4 separate regions of the Homo sapiens genome follow, and regions 1, 2 and 3 are each linked to region 4. Evidence: promoter capture Hi-C in human tissues and cell types (Jung and others, 2019). All regions are on one chromosome and are shown on one strand. The core of a region is centred on a gene start or on the middle of the fragment in contact, and the rest is flanking DNA. Distances in the headings are between cores, read along the strand shown.

What was found. The method cuts DNA at HindIII sites, captures the fragments that hold promoters and counts their contacts. A contact is called where the count stands out against the background at its distance.
Region 1: the fragment with the promoter of CTSS here is called in contact with the fragment with the promoter of ECM1 in region 4 in 1 of the 25 tissues and cell types used here (thymus).
Region 2: a fragment that was not itself captured here is called in contact with the fragment with the promoter of ECM1 in region 4 in 2 of the 25 tissues and cell types used here (IMR-90 fibroblasts and heart left ventricle).
Region 3: the fragment with the promoter of SETDB1 here is called in contact with the fragment with the promoter of ECM1 in region 4 in 1 of the 25 tissues and cell types used here (mesendoderm cells).

Annotation. Positions count from the first base shown.
Region 1 is chr1:150,764,528-150,769,902 of GRCh38, forward strand. CTSS (cathepsin S) reads right to left here and starts at 1,251. Exons shown (of 8, transcript NM_004079.5): 1 at 1,171-1,251; 2 at 111-237. The coding sequence starts at 236. RefSeq lists enhancers at 142-191, 1,122-1,266, 1,125-1,269 and cis regulatory regions at 1,194, 1,197. The HindIII fragment of the contact is 11,511 bases long and covers 1-5,375 here.
Region 2 is chr1:150,905,065-150,910,191 of GRCh38, forward strand. All of the region lies in intron 1 of CTXND2 (cortexin domain containing 2), which reads left to right. It overlaps LOC107985204 (a long non-coding RNA gene), which reads right to left. Exons shown (of 3, transcript XR_001738231.2): 2 at 1,938-2,027. Among named protein-coding and RNA genes, the nearest start is that of SETDB1, 19 kb to the right of the region's middle. The HindIII fragment of the contact is 6,057 bases long and covers 819-5,127 here.
Region 3 is chr1:150,922,885-150,928,402 of GRCh38, forward strand. It overlaps SETDB1 (SET domain bifurcated histone lysine methyltransferase 1), which reads left to right and starts at 3,479. Exons shown (of 22, transcript NM_001366418.1): 1 at 3,479-3,633; 2 at 4,820-5,090. The coding sequence starts at 4,831. LOC107985204 (a long non-coding RNA gene) reads right to left here and starts at 3,457. Exons shown (of 3, transcript XR_001738231.2): 1 at 3,376-3,457. The HindIII fragment of the contact is 16,745 bases long and covers 1-5,518 here.
Region 4 is chr1:150,504,390-150,509,382 of GRCh38, forward strand. ECM1 (extracellular matrix protein 1) reads left to right here and starts at 3,720. Exons shown (of 10, transcript NM_004425.4): 1 at 3,720-3,890. The coding sequence starts at 3,821. It overlaps TARS2 (threonyl-tRNA synthetase 2, mitochondrial), which reads left to right. Exons shown (of 18, transcript NM_025150.5): 14 at 1-46; 15 at 243-344; 16 at 517-589; 17 at 1,202-1,316; 18 at 2,527-3,213. The coding sequence ends at 2,675. The HindIII fragment of the contact is 11,585 bases long and covers 1-4,993 here.

The DNA of each region.
Region 1 (5,375 bases), core at 1-2,500, 260 kb after region 4:
ACACCCAGCTTAAATATTTACTGAAAACACTGCCTGTAAGAACACAATTTTAAGAGGTAGAAAACAGTACTCCTTTAAAAGCATATCGCTCGAGTGGCAATCCAATCTACCTTTTCCTTGTATTGTTTGCCATAGGTTTTCTTCCAGAGATGCCAGTGGTGATCCAGGGTAGGATCTTTATGCAACTGTGCCACTGCAGAGGAGCACACCAAGAGCACACAAACCAGCCGTTTCATTCTGTGTAAGGAAAGGTAACATAGGAAGTGTTGCTATTAGCTGCATATGTTGTGACCACATGTTTTCATAAGAGAAAATAACAATGCAAAGTCTATCAAAGGGACAGACTATTATAAACAGAATTATACAGGAAAATTCCTGGGATATATAGTCACAGGGAACAGCTGCAGATTTATGTCAGAAATACTACTTCCAATGCTTAGTAGCACTTTAAAAAGTGATTTCCAGGAATTTCCCAATATCTGGTAAACCAAACACATCTAGAGGGTTAGAAAACAGGGACTTTCCAGGATTTGCCAACAAATCTAATCAAAGGAAATCTCTTTCTCTCTCTCTCAAAAAAAAAAAAAAATCATCCTTAAGAGAGACAAACCTCTGAAAAATCAGTTTATCTCCTGAATTTTTGAATACATGGGCTCTTCTTAACTGACCTGTTTAAATATCCACAGTCTTTACAGATAGTTAAAAGACAATTCTCATCTATTGCTTTCACATCTTTAGGTAGGTAATTTTCCTTTTTACGTTTTTTTTTTTTTAATGATCAGACATCTGTTTCAAATGAGGCAATTAACTACTCTTTAAAATGCCACTTCTGTATTTAATTCAAGAGACATCAACAGAAATTCAGCGACTAGCTCCCTCAAACTGGATTCTACTTTCTTTTCCATTTCTTTTTAATTGAAAACATCTGGAATTTTAAACATGTAAGCCTTTAAATTATATTCCAAAGAAAGCCATGTTTCAGTCTCAACTTAGATGCTTAGATGCTCAAGCAGACATTAACTTTTTAAAAATAGAGAAGAGGCAAATTGAACGACACGATTTTTTAGTTTACTTCCTGAAACCAAAGATTTAAAACCTAGCAGGCAGAACAAGTTACAAACACAGAGTGTTTGAAGACCAAATGGGAGAAAAAGAACAAAGAGTACATACGTGATAGAACCAGCAGTTGCTCCCACAGTAAGAGTCCTTGAATTAGTGGGCTCTCTTCTAAGATTTCAAAGCAACAAGGAGATTTCAGTTCAATTGACTTGAAAAGAAATTGGAACTTGTCACATGAGGTACTCAAAATGAGGAAGTGAACTTTCATTTCAGTTTCATTTAAAATCTAGCTAGTACAGTCACCTCTAGTCATTTCCCTATGGTCTTGGGGACAAAGTGGATACAGTAAGCCATCAAGAAGAGCCCTTGTCTGAGCCCAGTGGCTCATGCCTATAATCCCAGCACTTTGGGAGGCTGAGGCGGGAGGATCACTTGAGGCCAGGAGTTCAAGACCAGCCTAGGCAATATAGTGAGACCCTGTCTCTGCAAAAAAATTTTTTTTAATTAGCTGGGCATGGTGGTGCATGCTTGTAGTCCCAGCTGAGGGGGAGGGTGAGGTGGGAGAATTGCTTGAGTCTAGGAGGACAAGGCTGCAGTGAGCCATGATTATGCCACTGTGTTTCAGCCTGGATGACATATCAAGACCCTATCTCAAAAAAAAAATTAAATTGAATTTTAAAAACACCAACTTTTACATGGAAAACATTTAGTTATAAAGAGATTTAGATAAAGCTCCCCAAATCCCAGCTCCTTGTATGATTTCCTAGGAAAACCTGTCTTACTGCTTTTAACACAACTCATTCATGATCTGATATTGTCTGGTTCTCACTCAGCCATTCCTTCGTTCATCAAACTCAAAATGTCTTTATTAATATATACTATATGTATAGTTTAGTAATATGCGTGTGTGTGTGTGTGTGTGTGTGTATGTGTTAGTATATTCATGGAAAAAAGGATACACTCAAATATATCCAATTGAGAATGATTACCTGGGTGGGGTGGGAGCAAGACGAACTATCATCTTTTAAATTTGCATTTTCCTAATTACTAATGAGGTTGAGGATCTTTTCACACATTTATTGACCGTTTGAATTTTCTGTGAATTTCCTGTTCATCTTTTTTGCTCATTTTTCTATTGTATTGTTGCATTTTCTTAGTGATTTGTGGGAGGTGTGTGTGTGTGTGTGTGTTGTGTGTTTTCCGAGACGGAGTCGTGCTTTGTCTCCCATGCTGGAGTGCATTGGTGCGATCTTGGCTCACTGCAACATCCACCTCCCAGGTTCAAGCGATTCTCTGCCTCAGACTCCCAAGTAGCTGGGATTACAGGCACCTGCCAGCATGTCCAGCTAATTTTTGTATTTTTAGTAGAGACAGGGTTTCACCATCTTGGCCAGGCTGGTCTTGAACTCTTCACCTCGTGATCCACCCGCCTCAGCCTCCCAAAGTGCTGGGATTACAGGTGTGAGCCACCGTGCCCGGCCAAGGTGTATGTGTTTTAAAAATATATTCTGGCTTCTAATCTTTGACAGTTATATACCCTTAAAAACATCCTCCCTTAGTCTTCCACTTGTCTTTTATTTTATTTTTTCTTCCTTTGCATAAGCCTATGAAATTCCACTTGTCCTTTAGTCTTGTTTATAGTGAGTTTTTCTATATGAAATTTTTTTATGTTGAGGTAGAACATTTTATTCAGCTTTTCCGTATAATCAATCTATACTGTTTTTGTATAAGAAAATTTTCCTCATCCAAATGTAATAAAGATACACTCATCTTATTTTTATACTTTCAGAGAGTGTTTTATTTATCTTTTCTATGGCTACTGCTTTTAGGTGTTTAATTCACCTGGAATTTAGTTTTGTGTATGGTATGACGTAGGGAGCTTATTTTCTTTGTTTTCCAATTTTGATTCTACCTCTATTGTACACCAAATTCTCATACATAGATAGGTCAGTTTCTGAGCTCATGAAGCTGTTCTTTTTATCTTTTGCTACTTCAGTATCACACAGTTTTAATTAAAACAGCTTTGTAATATGTCTCCACGTATGGTAAGGCAAGTCATCTAGGCCACCCTATCTTTGTTCTTCTTTTTAAACATTGTCTTTGTATTTTGTACTTGTTAACTCTTCTTTATATGAATTTTTTGAATCAGTTTATCAAGTTCCCTGAAAAACTCTGTTGGAGTTTTTTGCTTTTTTCTTTTGGAGACAGGGTTTCATTCTGTCACCCAGGCTGGAGTGCAGTGATGCAATCATGGCTCACTGCAGCCTTGACCTCCTGGGCTCAAGTGATCCTCCCGCCTCAGCCTCTGGAGTGGCTGGGACTACAGGTGCACACCACCATGCCTGGCTGATTTTGTTTTTTGTTTTTTGTAGATAAGGGGTTTCACCATGTTGCCCAGGCTGGCCTCAAACTCCTGGGCTCAAGCAATCTGCCCACCTTGGCCTCCTGAAGTGCTGGGATTACAGGCATGAGCCCCCACATCTGGCTATTAGAGTTTTTATTTGAATATATGCATAAATTTAGGGAGAAGTAACATCATTATAATGTTGATTCATCTCAGCTGTAGTAGACATGTTTGTGTTTGTAGCCATACAGTTTTTTTTAAAAAGATACTGCTTATGGAAAATTTAAAACACATGTAAAAGTAAAAATAGTAGTAAAATGAGCTGCCGTGAAACCATTGTCTTGTTTCAACAATGATCAGTACATGGCCAATCTTATTTTATTTATATTCCCACTCTCACTACCTGAATTATATTAAATAAATTCTAGACATTCTGTCATTTCATACGTAAATGTCCCTGTGTGTGTCTTTAAAAGACAGAGACTATTAAACAAATATAATACCACAATACCATCATCACATCTAAAATAAATGAACAATAATTTTCTTTTTTTTTTTTTTCTGAGACAGAGTCTCACTCACTTGCCCAGGCTGGAGTGCAGTGGTGTGATCCCAGCTCACTGCAATCTCTGCCTGCCGAGTTCAAGCGATTCTCCTGCCTCAGCCTCCCAAGTGGCTGGGATTACAGGCATGTGCCATCACACCCAGCTAATTTTTGTATTTTTAGTAGAGATGGGGTTTCACCACATTGGCCAGGCTTGTCTCGAACTCCTGACCATAGGTAATCTGCCCACCTCAGCCTCCCTAAGTACTGGGTTTACAGGTGTGAGCCACTTTATTGTCATAAGAAATTAAGACAATAATTTCTTAATGTCATCAGACATCCTATCAATGTTCACATTTTCTGGACTGTCTTATACATTTTTTAATAGTTTGTTTGAATTGAGATTTAAATAAGCTCCATATATTGTGAAACCATTGAGTTATGTTTATATCATTATGAATTCATGGATTTAAACATATTTGATGTGTTTCAATCCATTCCAGTTTTATCCTTATTGATACTCATATTGTCTCATTTTTGGTCTGTAGGAATTTATTCAAACTGGCTCTTTGGTGCAGACAGAGTTTGTATATTTGGCATAATATTAGTACTCTTTAAAAGCTTCCTTTCTTTCTAATATGACAGGCTATTGCAGGTTTGTCTTGAACAATTCCTGCCCCAGACCTGGAATCAGCCATTTCTCCAAGGAGCTCTGGTTCCTTTTAGTGGAAACAATGTTTAAATACCATAATCTAGGAACTAGCAGTGTTTGGGATAGCAGATTGACCATTGTTGCTAAGCCTTTTCAGTAGCTAGAGCTAAGAAATATCTTTTTTAAAAAAATTAAATAAATCACAAGCTGACACTGATACTTCAAATTCAAATTCAAGACTATAGGGTTTACTCACCCCATCAATCTTATATCTGCACTTCTTTTCAAACATGCTTAAAAAATCTGGGTTCTCTAAAATATCAACTCAAGTACTTGTTTAATTTATCCTGTAAAATTGCAGAATAACAACAACAAGCCTACGCCAATAAGATTGTTAATGAAAACAAATTAGAGGTTTTAAAGTGGAGGGGGACAGGTTTTTCTCCATTAAGCCAAATGTCGCTAACGATGTAAGTCAATTACTGTGTTTTGAAGTCACCTGGAATAGTTCCCTGTATGGTTATGCTCCACCTCCATACACAGGTTTATTTGTTTCATTTCACTTCTTCCTTTTAGGGCTTGCTTTTTACACTTATGTAATTTCATTTTATAATTATGTAAAACATTTATGTGGATCCAAAGTGAAATCATCACAATGAGGTATATTCAAAGAACTCTAGCCTCTACTTTTGTCTGTTTTACACGATTTCCTTTTTTCCTTAATTGGTAATCATTTAAAAAATTTATGGTTTATCTTCCTATTTTTAGAAATATGC
Region 2 (5,127 bases), core at 2,597-5,096, 400 kb after region 4:
CACACACACACACACACACACACACACACACACACACACAAATCACCCTTCATAAGGAACTTGCAGAATCTGCCAATTCTTTTTTTTTTTTTTTTTTTAGGCCGAGTTTCATTCTGTTACCCAGGCTGGAGTGCAAGGGTGTAATTTTGGCTCACTGCAACTTCTACCTCCCGGATTCAAGTCATTCTCCTGCATCAGCCTCCCAAGTAGCTGGGACTACAGGCACACACCACCATGCCCAGCTAGTTTTTGTATTTTTAGTAGAGATGAGGTTTCACCATGTTGGCCAGGCTGGTCTCGGACTCCTGACCTCAGGTGATCCCCCCCAACCTCGGCCTCCCAAAGTGCTGGGATTATAGGCATGAGCCGTGGCACCCGGCCTTATCTGCCCATTCCATCTGCACATCTGGGAGGAGTCCAGGGGGTGGCATGAAAACCCAGTGTAAAAGATATGAGTGCAACTTACCCTGTTGCCCCAGAATTGTGGTCAAGTCTTATTGAAGGCACAATACTACTTATAATCTAAAGAAAGCTGCAACAATTAGAGCCAGAACCTCTTCCAAATCTCATGAGAAGATGGCGTAGTCAATCGTATATCCACCAACTCCCACCCCTTGTCCCACCACAGTATATATAAAGAATAAGGCCGGGCGCAGTGGCTCACGCCTGTAATCCCAGCACTTTGGGAGGCCGAGACGGGCAGATCACGAGGTCAGGATATCGAGACCATCCTGGCTAACACGGTGAAACCCCATCTTTACTAAAAATACAAAAAATTAGCCGGGTGTGGTGGCAGGCACCTGTAGTCCCAGCTGCTCGGGAGGCTGAGGCAGGAGAATGGCGTGAACCCGGGAGGCGGAGCTTGCAGTGAGCTGAGATCACACCACTGCACTCCAGGCTGGGCGACAGAGCGAGACTCCATCTCAAAAAAAAAAGAAGGATGAACTGGGGCCGGGTGTGGTGGCTCATGCCTATAATCCCAGCACTTTGGGAAGCTGAGGTGGGCAGAGGGTTGCTTGAGCCCAGGAGTTTGAAACCAGCCTGGGCATCATAGTAAGGCCTCGTCTCTACAAAAAATTTAAAAATCAGCCAAGTATGGTGGTGGGCACCTGTAGTCACAGCTATCCAGGAGGCTGAGGCAGGAGGATCACTTGAGCCCAGGAGGTTGAGGCTGCATTGAGCTATGACCATGCCACTGCACTCCAGCCTGGGTGACAGAGTGAGACCCTACCTCAAAAACAACAACAACAACAACAAAAAGAATGAACTGGGAGGGCAACTGGGAATTCTCATTATCGGCATTATGGGATGTACAAAATTTGTGATGAGAAGCAAAGATAAAAGTACTTCCCCTTCCTCCCAAAGCCAAAGATGAGGGCATGCCAAGAGAGACATTGGTACAATTGGTGACACCAGCAAGGAGAGACTAACAGCATTTCATTCCCTAGATAGATGCTTTAAACTGTAGAACCTGCCAAACCACTCTGGTCAGGTTGGAGTAAAGCATGGTGTGAGTTTTTAACCTGTGCAAACATAAAAAATCATGTCAATTTCTTGGCTACAGAGATCTGAAAGTGGAAGGCCCACTGGAATAATCTGTGCTGGCAGGGTTTATAGGTACCTTGGCAGAGTATGCCTAGGAAGAAAATGTGGCCAATCCCCCCAACCCATCACAGTCTGGCCACTCCCCTTGAAGGACTTCAGGTGTCTCCGAAGGAGCAGGAGCAGTGGGAGGTGCCAGGAGACCACTGTACCAAGCCATGTGATATCCAACGTGAGTTTAGGTTGGGAGAATAGAGGATAAGCAGCACCATTTGAAGGGGTCTTCAATGACAGAAAAGTCCAGAATGAAGAGAAACGCTACTCAAAAAACTACAAACATCCTTCACTCTGAAACCACCAGATCTAACCAGAGTAAGACCAGGTCACCTACTCACAGTTGGCCACAGCTGATTCATTAAATAGAGAAACACTTCACATTTTCCCCTTCCTTTCTTCCTGATCCTGTACAATGCAGAAGAAGAAGCCTGAAAAGGGAGAAGAGCTAATAGAACTCTAAATCCTCTATAAGATTAGGAATTTAAAACTGAACTAAGGTTTTACAAAAACCAGCTTTATTAAGATATAATTCACATACAATTCAACCATTTCAAATGTACAATTGAATGGTTTTTAGCACATTCACAGAAATGTTTTACCATTACCACAGTTGTAGAACATTTTTATCACCTCCAAAAGAAAACCTGTATCATTTAACTTTCACCCCCTCATCCCCCACCTCCAGCTCTAAGCAACCACTAATCTGTCTCTATAGATTTCTCTATTCTAGACTTACATGTGAATGGAATTATATAATATGCTGGGGGCGTTTGTGACTTGTTTCTTTCACTCAGCTTAATGCTTTAAGTTTCATCCAAGTAGTATGTACTTCCTTTTTATGGCCAATAATAGTCTATTGTGTAGACATACCACACTTTGCTTATCCATTTATAAGTTGATGGACATTTGAGTTGTTTCTACCTTTTGGCTATGATGAATAATGCTGCTACAAACATTCTTGTATAAGTTTTTGTGTGGTCACATGTTTTCATTTCTCCTGGGGACAGCCATAGGAGTGGAATTGCTGCGTCATATGGTGGCTTTTTTTTTTTTTTTTTTTTTTTGAGACGGAGTCTCGCACTCTCACCCAGGCTGGAGTGCAGTGGCGCAATCTTGGCTCACCGCAAGCTCCGCCTCCCAGGTTCACGCCATTCTCCTGCCTCAGCCTCCCGAGTAGCTGGGACTACAGGCACCTGCCACCACGCCCGGCTAATTTTTTGTATTTTTAGTAGAGATGGGGTTTCACCGTGTTAGCCAGGATGGTCTTGATCTCCTAACCTTGTGATCCACCCGCCTTGGCCTCCCAAAGTGCTGGGATTACAGGCGTGAGCCACCGTGCCCAGCCAGCTTTTTTTTTTTTTTTTAGACAGTGTCTCACTCTGTCACTCAGGCTGGAGTATGGTGGCATGATCAAAGCTCACTGCAGCCTCCCAGGCTCAGGTGATCCTCCCGCCTCTGCCCCCCAAGTAGCTGGGATTACAGGTGTGCGCCATCACATCTAACTAATTTTTGTATTTTCTGTAGAGAGGAAGGTTTGCCATGTTGCCCAGGCTGGTCTTGAACTCCTGGACTAAAGTGATCCTCCACCCACCTTGGCTGCCCAAAGTGCTGGGATTATAGGCGTGAGCCACCATACCTGGCCAGTAACTCTTATGTTTCATAATTTTAGGAACTTCCAGACTGTTTTCCAAAGTAACTTTGCCACTTTACATTCCCACCAACCGTCAATGAGGGTTTCAATTACTTTCTACCTTTGTCAACACTTAATCTGACTTGATTCTAGTCATCCTAGTGGGTGTGAAGTGGTATCTCAAAGTTTTGATTTCCATTTCCCTGATGACTAATTACGTTGACCATTTAAAAAATGTGTTTATTGGCCATTTGCATATCTTCCTTATGCAGAAAAAGAAATTTCTATTCATATCCTTTGCCTAATTTTTAATTGAGTTGTCTTTTCATTGTTTCGTTGTAACTTTGGTTATCAGGTCTCTCTCCGTCACCCAGGCTGGAGTACAGTGGTGCGATCATAGCTCACTATAACCCTGAACTCCTGGGCTCAAAGGATCCTTCTGCCTCAGCCTCTCCAGTAGCTAGGACCACACACATATGCCACACACCTAGCTAATTAAAAAAAAAAAAATTAAGAAACAAGGTATCTCCTTACTACCCAGGCTGGTCTCAAACTCCTGACCTCAAGTGATCCTCCCACCTCATCCTCCCAAAGTGCTGGTCAGGCATAAGCCACCGTGCCCAGCCCATTTTCTTGATAATAAGCTTCTTAAAGTACAAAAGTTGGCTGGGCGCAGTGGGTCACGCCTGTAATCCCAGCACTTTGGGAGGCCAAGGGGGGCAGATCACCTGAGGTCAGGAGTTTGAGCCCAGCCTGGCCAACATGGTGAAACCCGACTCTACTAAAAATACAAAACGTAGCCGGGCATGGTGGGGGCGCCTATAATCCCAGCTACTCGGGAGGGTGAGGCAGGAGAATCGCTTGAACCTGGGAGGCAGAGGTTGCAGTGAGCCGAGATCACGCCATTGCCCTCCAGCCTGGGCGACAGAGCAAGACTCCTTCTCAAAAAAAAAAAAAAAAAAAGTACAAAAGTGTTGACCAGGCACAGTAGCTCATACAATCCTAACACTTTGGGAGGCTAAGGAGGGCAGATCTCTTGAGCCCAGGAGTTTGAGACCAGCCTGGGCAACATGGTGAAACTCCATCTCTACCAAAACAAACAAACAAAAAACAATTAGCCGGGCATGATGACGTGCACCTGTAGTCCCAGCTACTTGGAAGGTTGAGATGGGAGGATCAATTTAGCCTGGGAGGTCGAGGCTGCAGTGACCCCAGACGGCACCATAGCACTCCAGCCTGGGTGACAAAGTGAGACCCTGTCTCAAAGAAAAAAGTTTTAAATTTTGATGAAGTCCAGTTTCTCTCTTTTTTGTTGCTCGTGATTTTGCTGTCATATCTAAGAATCCTTACATTTAGGTCTTTGATCCATTTTAAGTTTATCTTTGTATGTGGTGTGAAATTGTTACCAAAACACCAGGAGTTCGGTCTAGGTCCTGCTGCTCACCACACAGAAAGATGAGCAATACCTGCCCCTGAGATGACAGGTATTGCCAAAGAAGAAGGCTTTACTCAGGTGCTGCAGCAGAGGAAACCGGAACTCAGTCACAAATCCATCTCCCTGACCAACTAAAATTAGAGGTTTATATAGCAAGGAAGAAATGTAACAATGTGTAGGAAAACAGGAACTCAGGAGGCCAAGAAAGCACTTGTGACCAATGAGGGGTCTTGCACTTCATTGTCAGGATGGGATGATCTGGTTGAGTTTCAGTTCCTTGATACTTTTTTTGAGAGGCCTGGTGGCCCTTTCCTGAAGAAGGAACTCAACATAAAACAAATGTAAGTTTTAAGCTTTAAGACCAGAAGGTCAATTTCTTTTTCTTTTTTCTGTTTTTTTTTTTTCTTTTTTTTTTTTTTTGAGACGGGTCTCCATCTGTCACCCAGGCTGGAGTGCAGTGGCA
Region 3 (5,518 bases), core at 2,229-4,728, 420 kb after region 4:
CTCAGATTTTGGAGTTGTTTCCACAACATAACCTAGTCTATCCTGATACTGATACTATTTTAATACATATCAAGTTCTTAAAAATTAAGTAGTTAACACCCAGTACTAATAGGGGTGTGGGGAAACACTTTCAGATTTGCTAGTGAGAGTAATAATTGTTACAACCTTTTAGAAAGGTAATTTGACCGCAGATTCTATTAAAATGGAAAAAAAGGGGCCGGGTGCAGTGGCTCACACCTATAATCCCAGCACTTTGGGAGGCCGAAGCGGGCGGATCACCTGAGGTCGAGTGTTTGAGACCAGCCTGTCCAACATGGAGAAACCCCATCTCTACTAAAAATACAAAATTAGCCGGGCGTGGTGGTGCATGCCTGTAATCCCAGCCTCTGGGGAGGCTGAGGCAGGAGAATCGCTTGAACCCCAGAGGCGTAGGTTGTGGTGAGCCGAGATCCTGCCATTGCACTCCAGCTTGGGCAACAAGAATGAAACTCTGTCTCAAAAAAAAAAAAAAAGGCCAGGCGCGGTGGCTCACGCCTGTAATCCCAGCACTTTGGGAGGCCGAGGGGGGCAGATCACGAGGTCAGGAGATCGAGACCATCTTGGCTAACACGGTGAAACCCCATCTCTACTAAAAATACAAAAAATTAGCCGGGCGTGGTGGCGGGCGCCTGTAGTCCCAGCTACTCGGGAGGCTGAGGCAGGAGAATGGCCGGGTGCAGTGGCTCACCGCTATAAAACCAGCACTTTGGGAGTCCAGGGCAGGTTGATCACTTGAGGTGGTGGGTGGATCACCTGAGGTGGTGGGTGGATCACCTGAGGTCAGGAGTTCGAGACCAGCCTCGCTAACATGATGAAACCCCGTCTCTACTAAAAATATAAAAATTAGCTGGGCGTGGTGGTGGGCACCTATAGTCCCAGCTACTCGGGAGGCTGTTGCAGGAGAACCCAGAGGCGTAGGTAGGCTGTGGTGAGCCGAGATCCAGCCATTGCACTCCAGCCTGGGCAACGAGAATGAAACTCCGTCTCAAAAAAAAAAAAAAAAAAAAAAAAAAAAAAAAAAAAGGCCGGTTGCGGTGGCTCACGCCTGTAATCCCAATCCCAGCACTTTGGGAGGCCCAGGAGGCGGAACCCGGGAGGCGGAGCTTGCGTGAGTCGATATCGCGCCACTGCAGTCCAGCCTGGGCTACAGAGCGAGACTCCGTCTCAAAAAAAAAAAGGAAAAAAAAGGCCTGGCGAGGTGGCTCATGCCTGTAATCCCAACACTTTGGGAGGCCAAGGTGAGCAGATCACAAGGTCAGGAAATTGAGACCATCCTGGCTAACACAGTGAAACCCCGTCTCTACTAAAAATACAAAAAATTAGCCAGGCGTGGCGGCACGCACCTGTAGTCCCAACTACTCAGGAGGCTGAGGCAGGAGAATCGCTTGAACCCAGGAGGTGGAGGTTGCAGTGAGCCGAAATCGTGCCACTGCAGTCCAGCCTGGGCGACAGAGCGAGACTCTGTCTCAGAAAAAAAAAAAGAAAAGAAAAGAAAAAGAAAGAAAGGGCCGGGAGCAGTGGCTCACGCCTGTAAGTAATCCTAGCACTTTGGGAGGCGAGGCGGGTGGATCACTTGAGGTCAGGAGTTTGAGACCAGCCTGGCCAACATGGCGAAACCTCGTCTCCACCAAAAATACAAAAACTAGCCGGGTGTGGTGGCAGGGGCTTGTAATCCCAGCTACTCGGGAGGCTGAGGCAGGAGAACTGCTTGAACCCGGGAGGTGGAGGTTGCAGTGAGCCGAGATCGCACCATTGCACTCCAGCTTGGGTGACAAGAGCGAAACTCAGTCTCAAAAACAAACAAACAAACAAAAAAAGGAAGGCTCGGCGCAGTGGCTCACACCTGTATGTAATCCCAGCACTTTGGGAGGCCGAGGTGTGACGAGGCCAGCCTGGCTAACACGGTGAAACCCCGTCTCTACTAAAAATACAAAAAATTAGGCGGGCGTGGTGGCACGCGCCTGTAGTCCCAGCTACTCGGAAGGACGAGCCAGGAGAATCGCTTGAACCCGGGAGGTGGAGGTTGCAGTGAGCCAAGATCGCGCCATTGCACTCCAGCCTGGGCGATAGAACGAAACGCCTTCTCAAAAAAAAAAAAAAAAAAAAAAAAAAGGAAAAAAGCACATATTATTTTACTCAAATTCCATTTTGGGAAATCTTTTCTTTTTGTTTTTTGTTTTGTTTTGTTTTTGAGACGGAGTCTCGCTCGGTCACTTAGGCTGGAGTGCAGTGGCGCGATCTCCTCTCACTGAAGCCTCTGCCACCGGGGCTCAAGCGATCCTCCCCCCGCCTCAGCTGCGGAGTTGCTGGGACCACAGACGCGAACTACCACGCCTGGCTTTTTTTTTTTTTTTTTTACCTTGTATTTTTAGTCGAGATGGCGTTTCGCCGTGTTGCCCAGGCTGGTCTGGAACTCCTGGGCTCTAGCAATCCTCCCGCCTCGGACACAAAGCGCCCGGCCTGGGGAATCTTTTCTACAGAAATAAAAGTACTACTTCAAAAGGATGTTTATTTTTATTGTTGCGCTATTTGTCGGGGCTGAGAACGGAAAACAATCTAAACAATCTAAACTATTCAGGTGTCAAAAATACAAGTTATTGGTTTTTTGTTTTTTTGTTTTTTTTGGTTTTTTTGAGACGGAGTCTCGCTCTGTCGCCCAGGCTGGAGTGCAGTGGCGCGATCTCCGCTCACCGCAAGCACCGCCTCCCGGGTTCACGCCATTCTCCTGCCTCAGCCTCCCGAGTAGCTGGGACTACAGGCGCCCGCCACCACGCCCGGCTAACATTTTTAGTACAGACGGGGTTTCACCGTGTTAGCCAGGATGATCTCCATCTCCTGACCTCGTGATCCGCCCGCCTCTGACTCCCAAAGTGCTGGGATTACAGGCGTGAGCTACCGCGCCCGGCCAAAAATACAAGTTTTACCTTTTTTATTGGCTTCAGGTAATGTCCACATGTTAAATGAAAACAACAAAAATCCAAATACAGAAACTCGTACATACAAGACTGGAAAATGAAGCTGTATTACCTGAAAGGAGCGGAGTGGTGATGGGGCAAGAGAGAATATTATCACGTTTTTCTTATTACATCTTGATAGCCTTTACAATTTGTATCACTTATGTAACAAAACAAACTCAAGTAAAACTGAGAGAATAAAGCTCTGAACCTATGAGCGTTTCCCTAAGTCTTTACACAATGAATATAGTAATGGGGCCACTAGTCGAGGGTGGTAGGAGCGGCGGAGACTCGGTAATATACTGGCCACGCCTACTCTGCCCTGCCAGTCTCTTCTCACGTGTGCCCCTGGAAGGCTCTGCCTTAACGCATGCGTAGTTACCTTAGTTTTCGTCGCCTCTGAGGGGCGCCCCGCGGCTTTGGATTTGACCCCGTCAGGCTACCGTCGCGGTGACCGGAACGGCACTAAAGGTTTGCTTCCGGGCGTTTCTTTTGCTTCCCCTTCCCTCTTTCACGCTTCCTCCCCTCCCCCTCCTCCCTTATCCCTTCGCTTTCGCTCTTTTCCGTCGAGGCCGACCCCTGAGTTGTGAGTCTGGGGTCTGGTTGGTGAAAAAGAGCCCTTGAAGCTGGAAGACGGGAGGTGCGGGGAATACTGTTGAGTTATTTGGTGACCAAAGGCTTATCTGGGACGTTTTGTTTGTGGGAGGGGGTCGGGCGAGGGTGGGAAGGAAGTCTTCCCCAGAGGCGAACGGGGGCGGGGCTGAACTGGGTTTGCGAATGGGTAGGACGCACCCCTAGAATGGGTAGCACGGGGGTGGGCTGGTGTGTGGGCAGAGGAAAATGGAGGCGCTGAAAATCAGATTTTCTTTAACCGTTTGATTAAAAAAGCAGTTCACACGAATGTGTGAAGTATTTGGATTGTGGATATTAGGTACCCACGTTTTATTCCCAGGTTGCTTTACTTCTCTGTACTTTGGGGGAAACCTTTTTGCTGCAAGCTTTCGTGTGTTTGAATATCATAGACTTTTTAAAAAGTAAAATTCCACATGGAAGCAAAGTAATATAAGGGGAACAAGTAATGAAAGAGAAAACACTGAGTTAGTGAGTTCCAAATCAACTCCATCCCCAGGTGGGGTTTTGTTTAAATTAGGCATAGCATACAAAGATTTATCACATTAGTTAAGGAACACATATAGACCACAAAAATATCTTATAGATTGGTTCTCTTCAGTATCCCAAAAGATTATTTTTAAAGTTCGGTTTGTTTTGAGACAGGGTCTCACTTTGTCACCCAAGCTGGAATGCATGGCGCGAACATAGCTCACTACAGCAGCTACTCCTGGGCTCAAGCGATCCTCCCACTTCAGCCTCCTGAGTAGCTGGAACTAAAGGCGTGCACCACCACACGTGGCTAATTTTTGTATTTTTTTGTAAAGACGAGTCTTGCCATGTTGCCCAGGCTGGTCTTGAACTCCTGCCCTCAAGCGACCCTCCTGCCTCGGCCTCTAAAAGTGCTGAGATTACAGGTGTAAGCCACTGTGCCAGCCCAAAACATTATTTTCAGTAGCTCTCTACTGCTTAATGAATGTTCTCCATGCCGTCTCAAACTCTTAAATCTTTTTCAGGAGTGTTAGCGTACAGCAGAAGATAAGAACTCTTAAAAATCTCAGCATCAGATTCTGGAGAATAGGGAGGGAGAACATGGAATATTTGAATAGAATAACAGGCAGCAGAGTAGGAATTAGTTTTATTAGGGAACTGAAATTCTCTATTGATTGATTGTAGTTATAAGGACTCCAATTTAATTTGTTTTCTGTTCCATGCAGAGGACAAAAGCATGTCTTCCCTTCCTGGGTGCATTGGTTTGGATGCAGCAACAGCTACAGTGGAGTCTGAAGAGATTGCAGAGCTGCAACAGGCAGTGGTTGAGGAACTGGGTATCTCTATGGAGGAACTTCGGCATTTCATCGATGAGGAACTGGAGAAGATGGATTGTGTACAGCAACGCAAGAAGCAGCTAGCAGAGTTAGAGACATGGGTAATACAGAAAGAATCTGAGGTGGCTCACGTTGACCAACTCTTTGATGATGCATCCAGGTGAGAACTCCATGGAAAATAGAAGGAAATCTCTCCATTGGGAGATGTTTTTAGAGAATAATTGTTCATGACATTGAACCAAGCATTTTATTTTATGTTTTGAGACGGAGTCTCGCTCTGTCACCCAAGCTAGAGTGCAGTGGAGTGATCCTGGCTCACTGCAACCTCCACCTCTCGGGTTCAAGTGATTCTCCCACCTCCCCCTCCCGAGTAGCTGGAATTATAGGCATCCGCCACCACACCCAGCTAATTTTTTATATTTTTAGTAGAGACAGGGTTTCACCATGTTGGCCAGGCTGTGTACCAAACATTTTATACTTTATGAAGTACAGATGTTTAGAACCTTACTCTTCCTCAAAGTTTATGGTCAAAAATCTGACCTTACAATCAGCCGTAAATATAATTTTCATCTGTCAGCAGCTAATACA
Region 4 (4,993 bases), core at 2,470-4,969:
AGCTTGACTTCCAACTGCCCCTGAGATTTGACCTCCAGTATAAGGGGTATAAAACCTTGCCCTATCCTCTTTTCCCTTGACAGTGCATGGAATAAGTCCTTCTGCCTTTGGCCCTAAAAACTAAACCCTCCACACCCTCTCCTGCCAGAGCTGAATATTTCTTAAAAACTGGAAGGTGATCTTGGGTACACAATTCGTGATACTTCCACCATTCCATCCACCCCCCCCTTTTTCCTTTCAAGGCAGGCGGGTGCCCTGGAGCGTCCAGTCCTCATTCACCGAGCAGTGCTCGGTTCTGTGGAAAGACTGTTGGGAGTGCTGGCAGAAAGCTGCGGGGGGAAATGGTGAGACCTCTGACCTGGATTTCTGTTCTGGCCCCAAACCGGATAGTTATGCTCCAGATCCTGTCCCCCTTCATATGCCAGCCTCTTTCCTTCTCAAGTCTGCTCCATACAAGCACACTTCTGGCCAGAGCCAGAGTGACTAATTTGCCATCACCTGTTCTTTCCCTACCAGGCCACTGTGGCTGTCCCCGTTCCAGGTGGTGGTCATCCCTGTGGGGAGTGAGCAAGAGGAATACGCCAAAGAGGTAAGGAGTTGAGGTAAGGGAGGGGGCAGAAGCAGGTCCAGTAGAGAGTCTGGTGCCCTGCAGTGGGCAGGAAGAGGCTGCAGGGGTGGTAGAGGAAGGAGCACAGCCCTCACAGCCACAAGACTGGGCTCGAGTGGCTGCTGTCCTAGATGCTGGAAATCCTGTATCTAAAAAATGTGACTAATGCCTACCTTGTAGAGATGTATGAAAATTAAACAAATTAACAAATGTTGAAAGCCACCAAAAGAGCACTTGGCACAAAACTGGGATTGAGTACACAGTTTTATTTTTCCTTTCTAGAGAGAATTGAGGATATGGATGGTACCAGAGTCAAACAGCTGGTTGGGTAGAGCAGTGGCTAGAAGGCAAAGTCCACGGAATAACTGGGGGGTCATCTCCAGTAGGAGGCAGAAAGATTGTGGGGTTGGGGATGAATGGGGAGGAGGCCTCAATGTGGAGATGAAATGAGGAGAGGTTGCTGGTAAGAAGTGGAGAGCCCCGAGGCAGGGAAAGGAGGAACAGATGGGGGCATTGAGGGAAAAGAGCATCAGACTGTTCTAGCTCCTTAACTTTCCAGTAAATTAACTTCCTGTCACCAAACCTCTGTTGCAGGCACAGCAGAGCCTGCGGGCTGCAGGACTGGTCAGTGACCTGGATGCAGACTCTGGACTGACCCTCAGCCGGAGAATCCGCCGGGCCCAGCTTGCCCACTACAATTTTCAGTTTGGTAAGCTGAACCTCAGAGCCAATGTTCTCCCACCTGCCGTCTGCATTCTTGCTGTTAAGTTTACCAAGTCTGGTAATGCATATTTGGGTTAATTGGGGCTCATTACCTGAGCAGGTAGGAGCCAGGATTCAGGACACCTGACTCATTTGGGCCCTGTGTTCCTTCACATTGCCCTGCCCTCCCCATAACCACTTCTGACACTCAAAATAGTTTTCCTCTTTTTAACTCCACTCTAGCTGTTGGTGTCTGTTAGGTTAATTAACCAAGGGAGCATCAGAGAGAAAGGGACGGGAGGGTTAATACAGCGTTAATTACCCTTGTTTATTTTAGACCTAGATGGAATCAGCCCTAAGGGATGAGGAGAAAGGCCTTAGGGAGAAAATTCTGGCACTGCCATGCTCCCTTTTTCATTTTCCAGGGTTCAGGGCTCTATCTCAAAGGTGAGGAGCAGAAACTCCTCAGCCAGATTACCTGATTCTTGAGTTTTGCACACCCCACTCTCCCTACAAGCACCCAGAGCAAGCTGTGCTGCAATCCCAGGGACTTGTACATGGCCCCTTTCCCTCCCTTACCGCCCAGTCAGCCCCTGCATACATCCTCCTCAGCAGAGGCCCCTCACTCTGTGAATCCAGCCCTAACAGACACCAAGAGCCAGAGTGGGACTGATGAGAGGAAACTGTTCTAAGGGTCAGAGTGGTTGGGGGGAGGCGGGGCAGTGTGAAGGCCACACCACTCCTGCCACCTTCCACTTGCTCTAATACCCCCTTCAGACACGCGCGCGCACACACACACACACACACACACACACACAGTTTCTCTCTGTGGGGTTCTCATTGTTTGTCTTTCTCTGCTTGACTCTAATGTCTCTGACACACACACACACACACACACACACACACACAGTTTCTCTCTGTGGGGTTCTCAGTGTTTGTCTTTCTCTGCTTGACTCTTATGTCTCTGACCCTGGGGCTCTTGACCAGAAGCGATAAGGCCTGCGGGGACTGAAGCACTTCCTTGTCTCCTCAGGATGAGCAGGACTGGTCATTTAGTATTAGCAGACACAGCTGAATACTTCCTTTCTGTGAACCATATCTGGGCTCTGCTCCCACCCTTCCTAAAGATTTAGGTCTCTCAAGTTTCTGCAGAGCAAAAGAAACTGTTCCATGTGGGTGAATTTGCCCTGAGGTTCCCAAACTTCCTCTACCTGCAGTGGTTGGCCAGAAAGAGCAAAGTAAGAGAACAGTGAACATTCGGACTCGAGATAATCGTCGCCTTGGGGAGTGGGACTTGCCTGAGGCTGTGCAGCGACTGGTGGAGCTACAGAACACGAGGGTCCCAAATGCCGAAGAAATTTTCTGAGCCTTTGTACATAGATGAGGCAAAAACCTGCGAGTGCCATCAGCCTCCCTCACATGGGAGACCCCAACCCAGCTGACAATGTGGAGCCCCCAGAACTTCAGAACTGTGTGGAGGCACATGTCTGCTCTCCTGAAAAGAGACTTGGTTTGGGGACCCCACAAAAGGAGGGAAGCTGTAGCTGTTTGGATGTGAGGAGAATGAAACTACAAAAAAAAATAAATTGGGCCAGGCGCAGTGGCTCATGCCTGTAATCCCAGCACTCTGGGAGGCTGAGGCGGACGGATCATGAGGTCAGGAGATCAAGACCACCCTGGCTAACACGGTGAAACCCTGTCTCTACTAAAAATACAAAAAATTAGCCGGGCATGGTGGCACACGCCTGTAATCCCAGCTACTCAGGAGGCTGAGGCAGGAGAATCGCTTGAACCCGGGAGGTAGAGGTTGCAGTGAGCTGAGATTGCGCCACTGCACCCCCCTAGGCGACAGAGCGAGACTCTGTCTCTAAATAAATAAATAAATAAATAAATACAAACTGGAAGCTGCTGGTCATATGTCTTCATCTCTGACTCTGGAGAGGTGGGATAAAAGGATGTTCCACTTTGTCTCCCTCTTTTTTGTCCCAGAGAGTTAGGGAAATTGAAAAGGGACAGTCCAGACCTCACACTGGTAGGGGAGATCCCTTGGATAGGTTTCCTGCTCCCCGCTGTAAACTCCTTTGTGCCCTGTTTCCCCAACCCCAGTTCATGAGTTGGCAGATCCCCTCTCCACAGAAGGCAGCCTGTAGATGGAGAAACTGAGGCACAAACTAGGGGCTCAAACACCTCTTGCTCCTGGATTCTCTGAATCAGTTTCTCTTGAAGGTCATAAGAATGTTCTCCTCTAATCAGTCCCATTCTTCTCAATCCTCTGAGGAGGCTTCAGGGTGACTTTGGGAGGAGTGGCTTCCAGAGGAGGAGCAGCTGGGACTGAGTCATGGCAGGAAGCTGAGGAGGGCGGGAGATCACACCAGACAATTATAAAAGAAGAGCTGGTCCTGAAGCTCACAACCGTAACAGCCACCAGACAAGCTTCAGTGGCCGGCCCTTCACATCCAGACTTGCCTGAGAGGACCCACCTCTGAGTGTCCAGTGGTCAGTTGCCCCAGGATGGGGACCACAGCCAGAGCAGCCTTGGTCTTGACCTATTTGGCTGTTGCTTCTGCTGCCTCTGAGGGAGGTGAGTTGGGGGATCAGCACTTAGGAGGGGGTCTGGGCTTGCATGGCAGGGGTCTGGGTCCAGGCATCCCAGACGGCTCATCACTAGCAGAGTGATTCTCCGTTTGGCTTTCCTTTTCTGAGCAGGCCCAAAGTGGGCCTAGGCCAGTGGAGCCTTTAACCAAGGAGGCAGAGAGCAGGGGCACAGAAGGAGAGGGGTTCCTAGAAACTGCTGCCAAGAAACACAGAATCCCAGTCAAATAGACAACTGAGTGGGGGGTGGGTTCACAGAGTGAGGGTCTCCTGCTGATGAGGATGTAGGGAGGTGGCTGGTGGGAGAGGCAAGGGAGGGAAAAGGGGCCCCCAGGCTGCTCAAAACCGGATTGCTGGCCCAGCAAGCCTCGACTGACTCCCTGTCTGATTAGAGGAGTTGAGGGGTGTCCATCCACAGACCCACCCTCCATCCAGCACAAACACATTCTTTATCTGCTTTGATGCCTGAACAAAACAGGAACCCCTCAATGCTATGGGTGGAAACTAAGAAAAAAAGGAAAAGAAAAGGAAAAAAACCACCCAGGGCACTCCTGCAGGAAGCTGCTGAGGATGTCAGCAAATCTGTCCACTTCTCTGTGAAGCCCCATGCCATCATTCTTCCCAGCTCCTGGTCTTTTGTGTCTGCAGATCACCTACAAGTGACCCTTCCCTGTGCCTGTCCCAGTCCCCCAGGCCCTAAATTGAGACCTAAACTAAGGCGGAGCTGAGACTGGCTGAAGGGGAAGCACTCAACCTTCAGGAAGCCTCCTTAACCAAAGGCCTAAAGATGTTTCAAGGGCCTGGAGTAGGAGGGTGGGTGGAGGAGGTGGATTGGGTAGGCTCCAACCAGCTCAAGGTCCAGACTTTTTCCTCTGAAAGCTAGAGACGCATCCCAGCAGAGACTGGGGAGGACAACCCACAGCCCTGAGGGAAAGACTGGCAGAGGAAATGAGGGCCTCCCTCCCCAATCCCGTATGCCATACTCCCTTTAGGCCCAACCTCTGAGCCAGTAGAGGTGGAGCTATCAGACCGCCACAGGCTTTCTCAGAACCCAGCTGGTCATGTCTAGGTGTGTTGGGGCTGGGAGAGGAT